5 separate regions of the Homo sapiens genome follow, and regions 1, 2, 3 and 4 are each linked to region 5. Evidence: promoter capture Hi-C in 16 types of primary human blood cells and fetal thymus (Javierre and others, 2016). All regions are on one chromosome and are shown on one strand. Each heading gives the region's core, a stretch centred on a gene start or on the middle of the fragment in contact. The rest is flanking DNA. Distances are from core to core; before and after follow the strand shown.

Region 1 (2,700 bases), core at 60-2,559, 280 kb after region 5:
GAGGGCCAAACCTCGACTGGCACTGCTTGTCTGTGGAGTCAGAAATCAGACCCTAGAGGCCAGTGGCTCATGCCTGTAATCTCAGCACTTTGGGAGGCCGAGGCAAGACAGATCACCTGAGGTCAGGAGTTCGAGACCAGCCTGGCCAACGTGGCGAAACCCCATCTCTACTAAAAATACAAAAATTAGCCGGGTGTGGTGGCGTGTGCTTGTAATCCCAGCTACCCGGGAGGCTGAGGCAGGAGAATCGCTTGAACCCAGGAGGTGGAGGTTGCAGTGAGCTGAGATCACCCACTGCACTCCAGCCTGGGCAACAGAGCGAGACTCCATCTCAAAAAGAAAAAAAAAAAGAAAAGAAAGAAAGAATTTGGACCCCAGGATCCTCAGGGGCTTGGGCAGATTAAATGCATCCTGGGTAAGTGGCAAGTTGTGACAGCTGAGTGAAGTGGTGATGATCTGAACATCCTCCCATAAACAACCTGAATTACAGAGATCAGAGGTTACAAGACAGAGGTGCATTTTTACAGTCAGCCCTGTTATCTAGCATCATCCAGCCAATCAACCAAGGACTTGCTCAGCACTTCACCAGGGTGCAGCAATATGGTCCCCATCCTGAAAAGAAAACATGGGCTCTGCTCTGGGACAGGTGACAATTCCTTTAGAATGACTTAAAGAACAATTACACTCAAAGGTGCTAAGTGCAACTGGAGTTCAGAGAGAAATCATGCATGGGCACTAGTCCAACTGGTACCATGCCACCAAGGCAGGACTTGATGTAGGCCTTGAAAGATGAGTAGGATTTGGATAGATAAAGGGAGGAGGGATGGCGTTCCGGATGTGAAGAGCATGAACACAAGTTTAAAGGTGGCAATAAACCAGGTGTGTGTGTGTGTGTGTGTGTGTGTGTATGTCCATATTAAAAGTCAGGCGGAAAGTCAGCCAAACAGAGTGGGCTTAGTACTACAGGAGACTTTGAACTTGATGTGGTTGGTGACAGGGAATCACTGTACATTTTTAAACAGGGAGGGGACATGGACCAAGTGGTGGCTTTAGGAAGTGGTCTAATAGCAGTGGTTGACTCAGGATGGCTGCTGTGGCTGATCTCTCCATTCTTGGCATGGCCACAGTACTTTTTGTGTCCTTCTGTGGACGTAGCTCATTGTATTGGAGTTCTGCATCCACATGTCTGCATTCCTCACGGACACCAGGAGGTCCTTAAAAGCAGTGGCTATGTTTTATCTATGTTTCTATTCTGACATCTACCTGGCTCACAGGAGGCACCCAATGAACACTGATTAGATGAATAGATCATTTAATTTCAATCCACTGAACTACAATGACATACTATACAAGGATAACTACTGTCAAAGAATTTGACAAAACTGTATACAACACTAAAGCAAGACAAATCACAATTTGATCTTTTCTTAATGATTTGTGGAACACTAGGATCTTAGTCTTACCCCCATCTCTGTAAGCAGCAATTACTGCTGTATAATAATTTCGATGTCACAGGATACTAGATGAGTTTTCCTTTTTTTTTTTTTTTTGAGATGGAATATTGCTGTGTTGCCCAGGCTGGAGTGCAGTGGTGTGATCTTGGCTCACTGTAACCTCCGCCTCCCAGGTTCAAGCAATTCTCCTGTCTCAGCCTCCTGAGTAGCTGGGACTACAGGTGCATGCCACCATGCCTGGCGAATTTTTGTATTTTTAGTAGAGATGGGGTTTTACCATGTTGGCCAGGATGGTCTCGAACTCCTGACCTCAGGTGATCTACCTGCCTTGGCCTCCCCAAGTGCTGGGATTACAGGCGTGAGCCACTGTGCGCAACCCTAGATGAGTTTTCTACATATAGATTTGGATATATCATTTGGATATGATCACATTTGAGTAAACCTGTATCTATATAGTATTGTTCGGTATACCTGTACTGCAAATTCTTACGGTGGAGATTTGGCCTGTTCTCCCAGTGTTCAGAAGGGATTTGGTTGAAGCTGAAACTGCCCTTAATCAAACCCAATATTTAAAAAAAATCCAGACTGGTAATAATTTTCTCTTTATATACATGGAGTTTAACAACAGGACTCTTGAAAGTAGTAACAAATTCCTCTTAAATAAGATTTGATGTTTTTAGGCCGGGCGCGGTGACTCACACCTGTAACCCCAGCACTTTGGGAGGCCGAGGCGGGCAGATAACCTGAGATAGGGAGTTTGAGACCAGCCTGACCATCATGGAGAAACCCCATCTCTACTAAAAATACAAAATTAGCCAGGCGTGGTGGCGCATGCCTGTAATCCCAGCTATTTGGGAGGCTGAGGCAGCAGAATCACTTGAATCCGGGAGGTAGAGGTTGTGATGAGCCTAGGTCGCACCATTGCACTCCAGCCTGGGCAACAAGAGCAAAACTCCATCTCAAAATAATAATAATAAGATTTGATTTTTAAAAGTTAAGCAATCTAAAATGCCAAACAATGAGTTGACTTGTGAAACTTTGAATCGTATTCCCAGGAAATAATCTGTAAAGTGAGGTATGCCCATAAGCGTATTTCAGAGAAAAGGAGCTTAAGAGAGGACAGATGTCTGGCATGAGGACAGCAGGCAGAAGAGTCAAGAGATGATGGTCCTTCCATGAGTCCGTCTCCAGGTTTAACTGTGAAGCACCAGGTCTCTGAACTCAGATTTGTAGTAAGTGCCCTTTC
Region 2 (2,700 bases), core at 134-2,633, 260 kb after region 5:
AACTCTCACAACTCAACTACAAGAAAACAAACAATTCAGTTTAAAAATGGGCAAAAGATTTGAACAGACACCTCAACAAAGAAGACATATGGACAGCAACTATATGAAAAGATGTTCAACATCATCAGTCAATACAAACATCATCAGGAAAATACAAATTAAAATCACAATGAGATACCACTGCACACTTATTAGAATGGCTAATTAGAAGTGGTCATCTAATGAGACAGGTGTTTTCTGTGCATAGATTCTCATAGAATTAGCAGAGCTGAACTAGCCTCTGTTATCCTCAGGGGGCATTATAGGAAAAAGATTAGCTCCTCATTCTATGTCTAAATACCTCCTTGTTATCGGGTCATCAGGAATTTCGGGAGGTTAAGAATAATTGCCACCCTCCCATCCCCCAAAGCCTAGCAGTTCTAACTGAGGGGTGGGGACCAAGGGACTGAGTGGAGTGCTTTACTCAGGGGTGGTCCAGTTTATCCTAGGCTGCCTGTCCCTGCGGGTGGTCACAGGCTCCTCAAGCAAACACAATCCAGTCAATAGCAAATGGAACCTCCAAGTTACTCTCTGGGAGGCCTCTGGAAGGGCACTGGCCCCCAGTCCCCTGGGAGCTCTTCTGGGCAAAGGCAGTGCCCCAGCCTCAACTCAAGGCCTCTGGGCATTGGCCCAGAATGGACCCATCATCTATTCTAGTGAAGGGTGAGAGTGAGTGGTAGTCAGCCAGTTGGCTCCCAGAATTTTACACTCAGTAGGATAATAACAACAATCTGATGATTGCTAAATAGTTCCCAGGAGTACAACGTTAGGCCTCTCAAAGAAACTAACTTACTCTTATTTCTGCAGTGAATGATGCTCAAGATGAAAATGGTGAAGGACTAAAGAAGGCAATGTTAGTACAAATATTAACGATTTGAGTTTTGCTCTTCACTACAGCACTGCCTGCCATTCAGTATATTACACACACACACACACACACACACACACACACACACACACACCTTCTATTACATCCTTTCCCTATCCTGTGCAATGGCCGAGTTAACAAAAAGCAGAAAAACCTGGAAAATCTCCCGCTTAGTTTCAGAAATGGGTGTGGCATGCCCTGCCCGCATTGCCGAAGAAGTAGTTGGTCCCTAGAGCCTGGCAAAGTCAAGGGTGTGTGAAGGGGAAATGGTGACAACAATAATAATAACTGTCACAGGAATAATAATAACAGCAGTGAACACTTACTGGGTGGGTACTATATGCCAGGCACTCTGCTGAGTGCTTTATATGCATCGTCTCATTTAAGCTTCACTCCAACCCTGTGAGATGGGCGCTGACTCCCAGAGTGGTTAAGTAACTAGCTCAACAGCAAATAGTCACACAGCCAGTAAGTTTGGCATATAAATGTAGAGAGCCTGTGCTCTTCCTCCTCTAGACAATAACATGTATTGGGAAGGATATTGGGTCACACTGGAAGAGGAAAGGAAGCTTCAGGAGAGTCAGGTGTTCTGAGAGGCAGGAAGTGCCCACACTGGGCCAAGAAAATGACCCATCAAGAAGGTGGCAACTCGGCTGGGTGCGGTGGCTCATGCCTGTAATCCCAGCACTTTGGGAGGCCAAGACAGGTGGATCACCTGAGGTCAGGGGTTCGAGACCAGGCTGGCCAACATGGTGAAACCCCGTCTTTACTAAAAAATACAAAAAAAAAAGAAAATTAGCTGGGCATGGTGGTAGGTGCTTGTAATCCCAGCTACTTAGGAGGCTGAGGCAGGAGAATTGCTTGAACCCGGGAGATGGAGGTTGCAGTGAGCCAAGATCACACCACTGCACTCCAGCCTGGGCGACAGAGCAAGACTCTGCCTCAAATTAAAAAAAGAAAAGAAGGTGGCAACTCAAGGGAAAGCTTGCTCAGCCTCTACAAGCTGCTCAGCTTGCTTCTTGTTAGCCTCTCTGAGAAATGTTCTGGCACTTTCCCTTGCAGACCTTCCTGCATGAAACACCCTTCCCTGCTCCCTGACCCTCCTCCTCACCCTGGAAGCAGGCTGGGGTCTCTTTGCCGAGAAACTCACCTTAGGGCATGATTTCCCAACCAAGAAGTCAGGGCCCTCTGGTATGTCCCTTTGGTGTTGAAATGTGCTGGGGAGGAGGCAGGGCAGTGAGAGAGGGAAAATGATGAGTGTGTGTATGTGGCAGGGGGATGTCCGGGAGTTTTTTATCCAATTAAACCCAACCAGGGCCAAGCTTCCTCCATGTCCAGCCTTGGGAGACACAGAATCAGTGGAAGCAATATATGGCTAGTCCTTAGCGGTCTGGGCAGAAACACATGAAACTCTACATTCTTCATTTCCCAGATGGTGGAGTGGGGAACAATTATGAAAATCTCTTTCCTCCACCTGAAGCTCTGGGCTTCCAGAGAAATCCCAGAACCCTGGGGAAAAGGTGGGATCCAGCCAGCCTGAGACTGCCATGAGCACAAGTGGCATGTCAGTTTTCCTGTCATTTAAGTGCCCTACGTCTCCCCTGCCATCTCTCCCACTCCCCAGGGGCCTGTGTGTGTGTGTGTGTGTGTGTGTGTGTGTGTGTGTGTGTGTGTGTCTGGTAAGGGAGGGGTTTCAAACGAAATCCCCTCAGCTTGGGTGGCAGGCTGGCCAGCCAGTTTATATCTCCCGGAGTGGAGACAGGGGTTTGCACTGAGCCACCCACACTAGCTGA
Region 3 (2,700 bases), core at 51-2,550, 270 kb before region 5:
GTGGTAACTTGAGCTTCCTAAAGTAGGTATGCATAATGAAGAGTTAAAAGCTAAGTTTTATCAGATAGTAAAGAAGGGAAACACCAGGAGGGAGATTCTGGGTGGAAGGGTAGAGACAGCAGGAGCAAAGGCACAGACTGATCAGAATACAGCCAACTCTGTATATTGTCTTAAGGGATATAGTGTCATCCCTACACTTATTTTTTCTTTTTTTTTTTTTTTTTTTTTGAGACGGAGTCTTGCCCTATCCTCCGGGCTGGAGTGCAGTGGTGTGATCTTGGCTCACTGCAACCTCCTCTTCCCGGGTTCAAGCGATGCCCCTGCCTCAGCCTCCCAGAGTGCTGGGATTACAGGCGTGAGCCACCGTGCCCAGCGAATTTTTTTTTAACTCTGTTCTATCCTGGGCTGCATTAATGGCCAGTTATTTAATTTTCTGTCTGTATTGTGAGTAAAGTTTTTTTCCCATTGTATTTTTAAACTGTGTGTTATTGGTATGTAGGTCATATCTTGTAATCATGCTGATTTAATTTGTTACAGCCAGTACATTTAGGTTATTTCTTGTGGATTTTTCAGATCTACAGCCCTATAATCTGTCAGAATGTATATAGTGCAGTGCTTAGTAGAATGGACTTTGTAGTAGACTTCTGGGATTTGCATCCGAGTTCAACCACTTTCTAACTGTGTAACCATGGACAATTTATGTAACATATTTATGCCTCAGTTTCCTCCTCTATTAAGCGTGGGTAATATTGGTACATACTCATGAAGATTAATGAGTTCGGACATGTGAAGAGCATAATGGGATAGGTTTCTTTCCTCTGTGTGTGTGTTGATTTAGGGGGCTTCTGAGATAGATATCACCAACCTGTTTTATCCTGCTCCTGTTTTAAGGAAGAAAGACTTTGGGGCTTTTCATTTAAGATCAGAATTATTTATTGGTCTTAGAATAGATTTTAAATTTTATCAAGACAATCATGACTTTACTTTTGTCCATTTTGAAATTTTAAAATAATAATCATTAATAATAGTAACTGTTCCTCAGATAGCAGCTAGTGGCTGTGTGGCAGGGACTATGTGAGGCAATTTGCACACATCTCATTTACTCCTCACAACAACGCTTTGAGTTAAATACAGTTGATCCTTCAACAACATGGGTTTGAACTACACAGATCCACTTATATCCAGATATTTTCAACCAAATGCAGATGGAAAATACAGTATTCACAGGATGTGAAACCCACGTATAAGGAGGGCCAACTGTGGGACTTGAGTATGCGTGAATTTGATTATACACAGGCCATGCCAGAATCAATCCCCCACAGATCTCAAGGGACAACTGTATTTCCCATTTAACAGATGAGCAGATGGAGAACAGCAAGTTGAAATAACTTATTTAAGAGCATTCAACTAGGAGGAGAGCTGAGATTCCAATCTTAAGTTGGCTTAACTCCCAACTCTGTGCTCTTTCTACTACCCCACAATACCTCTATAATTCTATAGAACTTGATGAAATATACCTTTAGATAACTTCTTTTAGCCCATCTAATTTCTAGTTTGTACTTGCAGGCTGCCCCTTTTTCTTCATTTGAATTCTCTTAATCCATTTTGAGAGGGTATCTTTCCTCAAACACTAACCTCTTTGGTTAGATCAGGTATGCCTGGCTTTTTTGTTTACATTTCTTTTCAAAACCTTCAGATTTTTTTGTTTGTTTTTGTTTTTTGTTTTTTGGTTTTTTTTTTTTTTTTTTTGAGACAGAGTCTCGCTCTGTCACCCAGGTTGGAGTGCAGTGGCACGATCTTGGCTCACTGCAAGCTCCGCCTCCTGGGTTCACGCCATTCTCTTGCCTCAGCCTCCCGCCCAGCTAATTTTTTGTATTTTTAGTAGAGACGGGGTTTCACCATGTTAGCCAGGATGATCTCGATCTCCTGACCTTGTGGTCCACCCGCCTCAGCCTCCCAAAGTGCTGAGATTACAGGCATGAGCCACCGCTCGCAGCCAACCTTGGGATGTTTTTAATACTCCATACACATTAATGCAGAGCTTCTAGTGGGATATTTACATTTTTTTTCAGGCTTCCTGTGTATTTATGTATATCTTTAATAAAGATATGCCTTTTGAGTTTTTAATGATTTTTAAATTATACAGCAATGACAAGTGCTTTTAAAAAAATTAAAAGGAAATTTAAGCAGAATTGACAGATAAGGCAGAAGTTCTTCAATCCCTGTTCTGTCTCCTACTCCCAACTTTGCCTAAACCCCCATTCCCCAGCCAGGCCACTACCCTTAGGAGTTTATATCTTTCTAGACCAGTGCTGTCCAATAGAGCTTTCTGTGATGATGGAAATGTCCTGTATCTGTGCTGTCCAGTCCAGTGGCTTCTAGCAGCAGGGGGCTATTGAGTACTTGAAGTGTGGCTAGTGCAACTGAGAACTGAACTTCTAATTTAATTTAATTTAAAGTAATTTAAATTCAAATTCCCTATGTGGCTAGTCACTATTGTACTGGACAGTGCAGTTCTAGACCTTTGTATATGCTTTTTTGTTCACTCATAGACAAAATACTGATTTGTGTGTGTCTCTATATCATAAACGGTCTTATATGTATGTGTTGGTCTGCAACTTGATTTTTTTTTTTAACTCAGCAGTGTGTCTTGGAGAACCTCCCATCTTATTACATAAAGACCTAGCTCATTGTACTTTT
Region 4 (2,700 bases), core at 164-2,663, 290 kb before region 5:
CAGTCTTTATATTTTTACATAATTGGAATCCTCATATGCAGTTTTTATCCTGCGTCTTCATTTAACATTATATTGTCCCATTTTCTTATGTCATTTACAATTACTTTATAATATGCTTTTTAAAAACCAAATATTTCACCATAGGTCTGTGCCAAATTTTATTAAATTAACTTCTTTATAAAATTAAGTCATTGTCAAGGAACATGATATATCTGTTTTTTTCAGGTCCTCTTTTATATCTTTCAATAAAATTTTATAGTTTCTTAATATATATAGTTTTTAGGTTAAGTATTTCGTGGTGGATTTTATTTGCTGCTATTGCGAGTGGAGGTTTTTTCTATGTCCTTCTAATTGTTTATTACTAGTATACAGAATAGCTGTTGAGTTGTGGATATTTATCTTTTATCCAGTTGCTTCATTGAAATTTATTTTTAATCTTTTTTGCTTTTCATTTTGTTTTTTCATTTTGGTAGCTAACCTTAATATCTATAAATAATAATTTTGTCTCTTTTCTAGTAGCTACTATCGTTGTACACTATACCAGTGAGAATTTTGGGACCAGTGGTAAATGATGATGTTTCTTGTTTGGCTCCTGATTTCAGTGAGAATGCCTCAAGTGGTATTTCACTGTTAATGACATTATTGCTTGTTGATTTGACAGGGTTTTTTTTTTTTTTAATTAAGAAACTGCATTTATTTCAAGTTTGTGTTTTTTAAAATTATGAATGTATACTGAATTTTAGCAAATGTCTTTTTGGTATTTATGGAGATGATTTTATTCTTCCTTATTTGACCAATTGGTACACTGTATTGTACTAATTTCCTAAAATTAAACTGTCCCTTGTTTATCCATTATTCAACAAATATTTGTTGAGTGCCTTCTATTTCTCAGGCACTTTTGTAAGTGCAGAATCAGTACAGAACGACAAAGATAAAGTTGCTGCTCCTACTTTGGTTCTTGCTTCTGTGCAATTCAGTACTAGTGTCACACAGATACCTATAATTCAATCATTCATTCTATAAAAATATGACTATTTTTTATGTGCCAGGAACTACACTAGGCTCTAGGGATATAGCAGAAAGCAGTACAGTCATGATACTTTAAGGATTTTAATATAGGAAACAGACTTTAAACTGATAAGATATAGATAATTGTAGTTTTTTTTGTTTGTTTTTTTGAGATGGAGTCTTGCTCTGTCATCCAGGCTGGAGTGCAGCGGTGCCATCTTGGCTCACTGCAAGCTCCGCCTTCCAGGTTCACACCATTCTCCTGTCTCAGCCTCCCGAGTAGCTGGGACTACAGGCACCTGCCACCATGCCTGGCTAATTTTTTGTGTTTTTAGTGAAGACAGGATTTCACCATGTTAGCCAGGATGGTCTCAATCTCTTGACCTCGTGATCTGCCCGCCTTGGCCTCCCAAAGTGCTGGGATTACAGGCGTGAGCCACCGTGCCTGGCCCAGATAATTGTAGTTTTAATAAATGCTCTTGAGGAAAAGTACTAAGAGTTTATGAGAAGAGTAAGTATATTAGGAGGGTGGTCAGGGAAGACCTCTTTGAAGAATTGACATTTAAATTGAGACCAGAGGGGCTAAGTAAGAGGCAGGTTAAGATGGGAGAGAGAAGAATTTACCAGGTAAAGGGAATCACAAGGCTCCAGGCTGGGAAGTAGCTTGACACTTTTCTTTGAAGTGATAGAAGACCAGGGTGCCTAAAACAGGTCTTGGGCACCAAGGTAAGAAAAACAGGCTAGGGGGCAGATCTGGCAGGATCTTGTAAGCCTTGTCTTAAATCTGAATTTTGAGATTTCAAAAATGAGAATCGTATGAAGGATTTTATGCTGGGGTGTCATCATTTGCATGGAAGCAGAGAGACCAGTTAGGAGGCTGTTTCCATAGTGTAAGCTAGAGAGTGTGGTGGCATTAGTAATGAAGAGAAGCAGTCAGACTTGATAGATGTTTTTGGAGGTAAAATCCATAGGAATTGTTTTGGGTGTAAGGGGTGAGAGGAAGTGTCAAGGATGAATCTCGGGTTTCTGACATGACTGTGGATGATGGTACCATTTGCAGAAATAAGAACACTGCACAAAGAATGAGTTTTCCTCAAGGGGGAAGGGTCATTAATTTAGTTTTAGTCATGTTTAGTTTGAGATTTTTTTTTTGTTTTTTGAGATGGAGCCTCGGTCTTATCGCCCAGGCTGGAGGGCAGTGGCGCGATCTCAGCTCACTGCAACCTCTGCCTCCCGGGTTGAAGCTATTCCCCTGCCTCAGCCTCCTGAGTAGCTGGGATTACAGGCACCCGCCACCACGCCCAGCTGATTTTTGTACTTTCAGTAGAGATGGGGTTTTGCCTTATTGGCCAGGCTGGTCTGGAACTCCTGACCTCAGGTGATCTGCCCACCTCGGCCTTCCAAAGTGCTGGGATTAACAGGCATGAGCCACCTCACCCGGCTGAGATTTTTTTTGAGACACCTGAGTGTAGATGATAAATTGGCAAGTGAATGTATGCATCTGAATCTCAGAAGAAAGTCATCTGGGTCACTAGCACGTAGATGATATTCAAAATCATAAGAGATGATGTGATTGTGTGTGGACTGTGCTATCCAATACAGTAGCCACTGGCTACATGTGCCTATTTAAAATAATTAGAAATAAAATGAGAAATTCAGTCCCTCAGTTGCAGTAGTCACATATCAAATTGT
Region 5 (2,700 bases), core at 15-2,514:
ATGAATCACAGCAGGGAACAAGTCACCCTCTGGCAGGGCCAGGAGGTTCTGGACGCTCTGTGCACATACGTGCATTGTATTTACACAAAACAGATTTCCCCTCATCAAACCCTCTGCAACTTCCTGAGTCCGGGAAATGAAACAATCTGGCTGGTCTAGCCTAACATTTGTGAGAATCTTAATGAAACCACATCAGAGACCTGTAGGTGAAAGGCTGACTTAAGCAGGAGAGATTCTGGAATGGTTGGTGACTGCTGATGGCTGGTTGGGGGGTGGGGAATGGCAGCAGCTAAGAAAAGTCACAAGGGCGCTTTCTGGGACATGTCCTAAGTACCATCTCTACTCAGCATCCTGAATTCCCAGGCCCAGAGTTTCTCAGCCTCTGCTACCCTTCTCCTCCGCTCAGGTGTGGTGTTGTGGCCTCTATTTACCGACACCACATGCCCCACGCTGGCAGGACTGAGGCGGAAGCCTGCAGCCCGACGGACGGAGGGAGAAACAGCCAACTCGCGGGCTGGAGAGGGCAAAGGTCCAAAAACAGCCTAGGAGCGGAGCAGGGAAACGAGAAGGTAGAAGGTTCGGGGAAGGGGAGGGGGGCCCAGAGGTGCAGAGAACCCGTCCTTTGTGTAAAACTAACCTGGAAGACAATCTCCTCCCGATAAACCGGCCCAGCGGGAGAAGGGAGACCAGGAAGGGGGAGCCGGCCTGGAAGAACAAAGATCAAAATCCGTCGGGAAGCAGCGACCGGCTCCCCAGCGGGGGGCCGGAGGCCGGAGGCCGGAGTCCGGGGCCGAGCCGCGGGCGCGGCCTCTCGAGGCCCGCCCTGACTCCGCCACGCCGCGGACCACCGCCCCAGGCAGGTTGGGACGCGCGCCACATCCACACGCACACGCAGCCACACGCTCGTACACACTCACACACGCCCCGCCACGTGTAGTCACCCCGGGCCAGGGGCTCGGCGGCTGCCGAGTTGAGAAGGGCGGTGCCGACGTCCCCGCCTCCAGGCGCCGCGGAAGGGGAGGCAGCCCACCCTGCAGCCGAGCCCAGGAGACCCCCGCCCCCACCCCTCGTTACCTGAACCACGGAGACCCAACTCGGCCGGCAGCTGACGGCAGGAAACGGACCGTCCCAGGGAATCACGTCGGCAGCCAAAGGTGGCAGCGACTTGTCCTCCCCGGGCCGGGAGGCTGTCTCCTCCTGACAAGGGGCCCCAGTGGTCGGGGCCCTAAACCAGCTGTGGCAACCGCCCACCACTGGCCAAATGGAACGCTCCTCACGTCACCAGGTCGCTCCAGTAGTTGCTCGCCCTCTATTGGCCGATCGGCCTCGGCGCCTCCGCCCCGGCCGCCCCTATCCCGAACTGCCATTGGTTTTGCCTAACGCCACTCGACGATGCCTCCGCCCACTCCTCCACCCATCTCCCTGCTGCATGCCCACCTGCCAAGCCACTGCCAGCCTCTCTTTGGGGTCTGAGCGCCAGTATGTGAAGTGTTGCCTTCTATTAATATAGTTACGCAGAGACGGAGGTTAAGGGTAGTGCCGATGGGACAGCAAAGGGTGGAACCAGCCTACACACACGCGCGCGCGCGCGCACACACACACACGCGCGCGCACACACACACACAGTGAGATGCTGAAGCAACACTAGCTCACAGATCCGGGTGCTCACCCCAAACTAGGTCTGCCATGGGCCTCTCCAGCCCTGCTTGCATTTTAAAATCAACCGCAACTTGAGATTTTACTCTTTATCGGCATAAAAACAAGTCATCTGCCTCCCAAGTCTCATTCAGTAGCCAGGGACCCCATATCTGTCCCAGTCACCCTAGCCTGCATCTCTAAGTCTTTCAAATCAAAACACACAAACAAGCATAAAAAGCATGTTGTAAAGGATAAATGTCCCCAAGAACGTATTATCATTTTGCAGCACCTAAAACAACTAATTGACATTAATGGAGTTAAAGAAACTCCACTGAGGACATAAATTCTTCCAGGTAGGTAATGAAGTAAAGATTGCCAAAAAGGTTGTAAATTTTTATTCGGTTTGGAAAGCTTATGATGATTAAGGGGAGAATCCAAGGCAGAATTCCCACCCACCAACCAGATTGATTTTTTCCTTCTGCCACCCAGCTCTGCATTACTGCCACCATGAGCCACTGCTACTGATCCGAGTGAGTTGCATGCATTAAAAGTTTGAGATTGGGCTGGGCGCGGTGGCTCACGCCTGTAATCCCAGCACTTTGGGAGGCCGAGGCAGGTGGATCACCTGAGGTCAGGAGTTCAAGACCAGCCTGGCCAACATGGCAAAACCCGTCTCTACTAGAAAGACAAAAGTTAGCGGGGAGCGGTGGGACTCGCCTGTAGTCCCAGCTACCAGGGAGGCTGAGGCAGGAGGATCACTTGAACCCAGGAGGTGAAGGTTGCAGTGAGCCAAGATCATGCCACTGCACTCCAGCCTGGGCGACAGAGAGAGACCCTGTCTTAAAAAAAAAAAAAAAAAAGTTTGAGATTGAAGGGGGGAAACAATTGAGAACCACAGTATTATACTATAGGGTGACTTTAAAAGACACTAGGTCTGTTTTCACCAGTATGGCTCCTGCCTTCCAAATATAAGAGGAAATATGAGAAAAGGTTGAAGGTGGCATCTCCTTTCCAAGTGTAAGAGGAGATAAGAGAAAAGGTTGAAGATTGGAGGAGAATGCC

Evidence for each region. The method cuts DNA at HindIII sites, captures the fragments that hold promoters and counts their contacts. A CHiCAGO score of 5 or more calls a contact.
Region 1: a contact is called between a fragment that was not itself captured here and the fragment with the promoter of ZDHHC9 in region 5, in 9 of 17 cell types (non-activated CD4 T cells, activated CD4 T cells, neutrophils and 6 more). The highest score is 9.5, in non-activated CD4 T cells.
Region 2: a contact is called between a fragment that was not itself captured here and the fragment with the promoter of ZDHHC9 in region 5, in 11 of 17 cell types (activated CD4 T cells, naive CD4 T cells, non-activated CD4 T cells and 8 more). The highest score is 12.2, in activated CD4 T cells.
Region 3: a fragment that was not itself captured here is called in contact with the fragment with the promoter of ZDHHC9 in region 5 in 1 of 17 cell types (neutrophils); the score reaches 7.2 in neutrophils.
Region 4: a contact is called between a fragment that was not itself captured here and the fragment with the promoter of ZDHHC9 in region 5, in 6 of 17 cell types (naive B cells, neutrophils, monocytes and 3 more). The highest score is 7.1, in naive B cells.

The regions. Positions count from the first base shown.
Region 1 is chrX:130,126,158-130,128,857 of GRCh38, forward strand. It overlaps a transcript of RAB33A not described here. Among named protein-coding and RNA genes, the nearest start is that of ELF4, 17 kb to the left of the region's middle. The HindIII fragment of the contact is 9,973 bases long and covers 1-2,700 here.
Region 2 is chrX:130,103,319-130,106,018 of GRCh38, forward strand. All of the region lies in intron 1 of ELF4 (E74 like ETS transcription factor 4), which reads right to left. Among named protein-coding and RNA genes, the nearest start is that of ELF4, 5.8 kb to the right of the region's middle. RefSeq lists a silencer at 276-570. The HindIII fragment of the contact is 182 bases long and covers 1,293-1,474 here.
Region 3 is chrX:129,569,634-129,572,333 of GRCh38, forward strand. The region is part of intron 15 of OCRL (OCRL inositol polyphosphate-5-phosphatase); the gene reads left to right. Among named protein-coding and RNA genes, the nearest start is that of OCRL, 31 kb to the left of the region's middle. The HindIII fragment of the contact is 7,309 bases long and covers 1-2,700 here.
Region 4 is chrX:129,550,275-129,552,974 of GRCh38, forward strand. The region is part of intron 4 of OCRL (OCRL inositol polyphosphate-5-phosphatase); the gene reads left to right. Among named protein-coding and RNA genes, the nearest start is that of OCRL, 11 kb to the left of the region's middle. The HindIII fragment of the contact is 2,986 bases long and covers 1-2,700 here.
Region 5 is chrX:129,842,622-129,845,321 of GRCh38, forward strand. ZDHHC9 (zDHHC palmitoyltransferase 9) reads right to left here and starts at 1,265. Exons shown (of 11, transcript NM_016032.4): 1 at 1,075-1,265; 2 at 638-705. The HindIII fragment of the contact is 4,624 bases long and covers 1-2,047 here.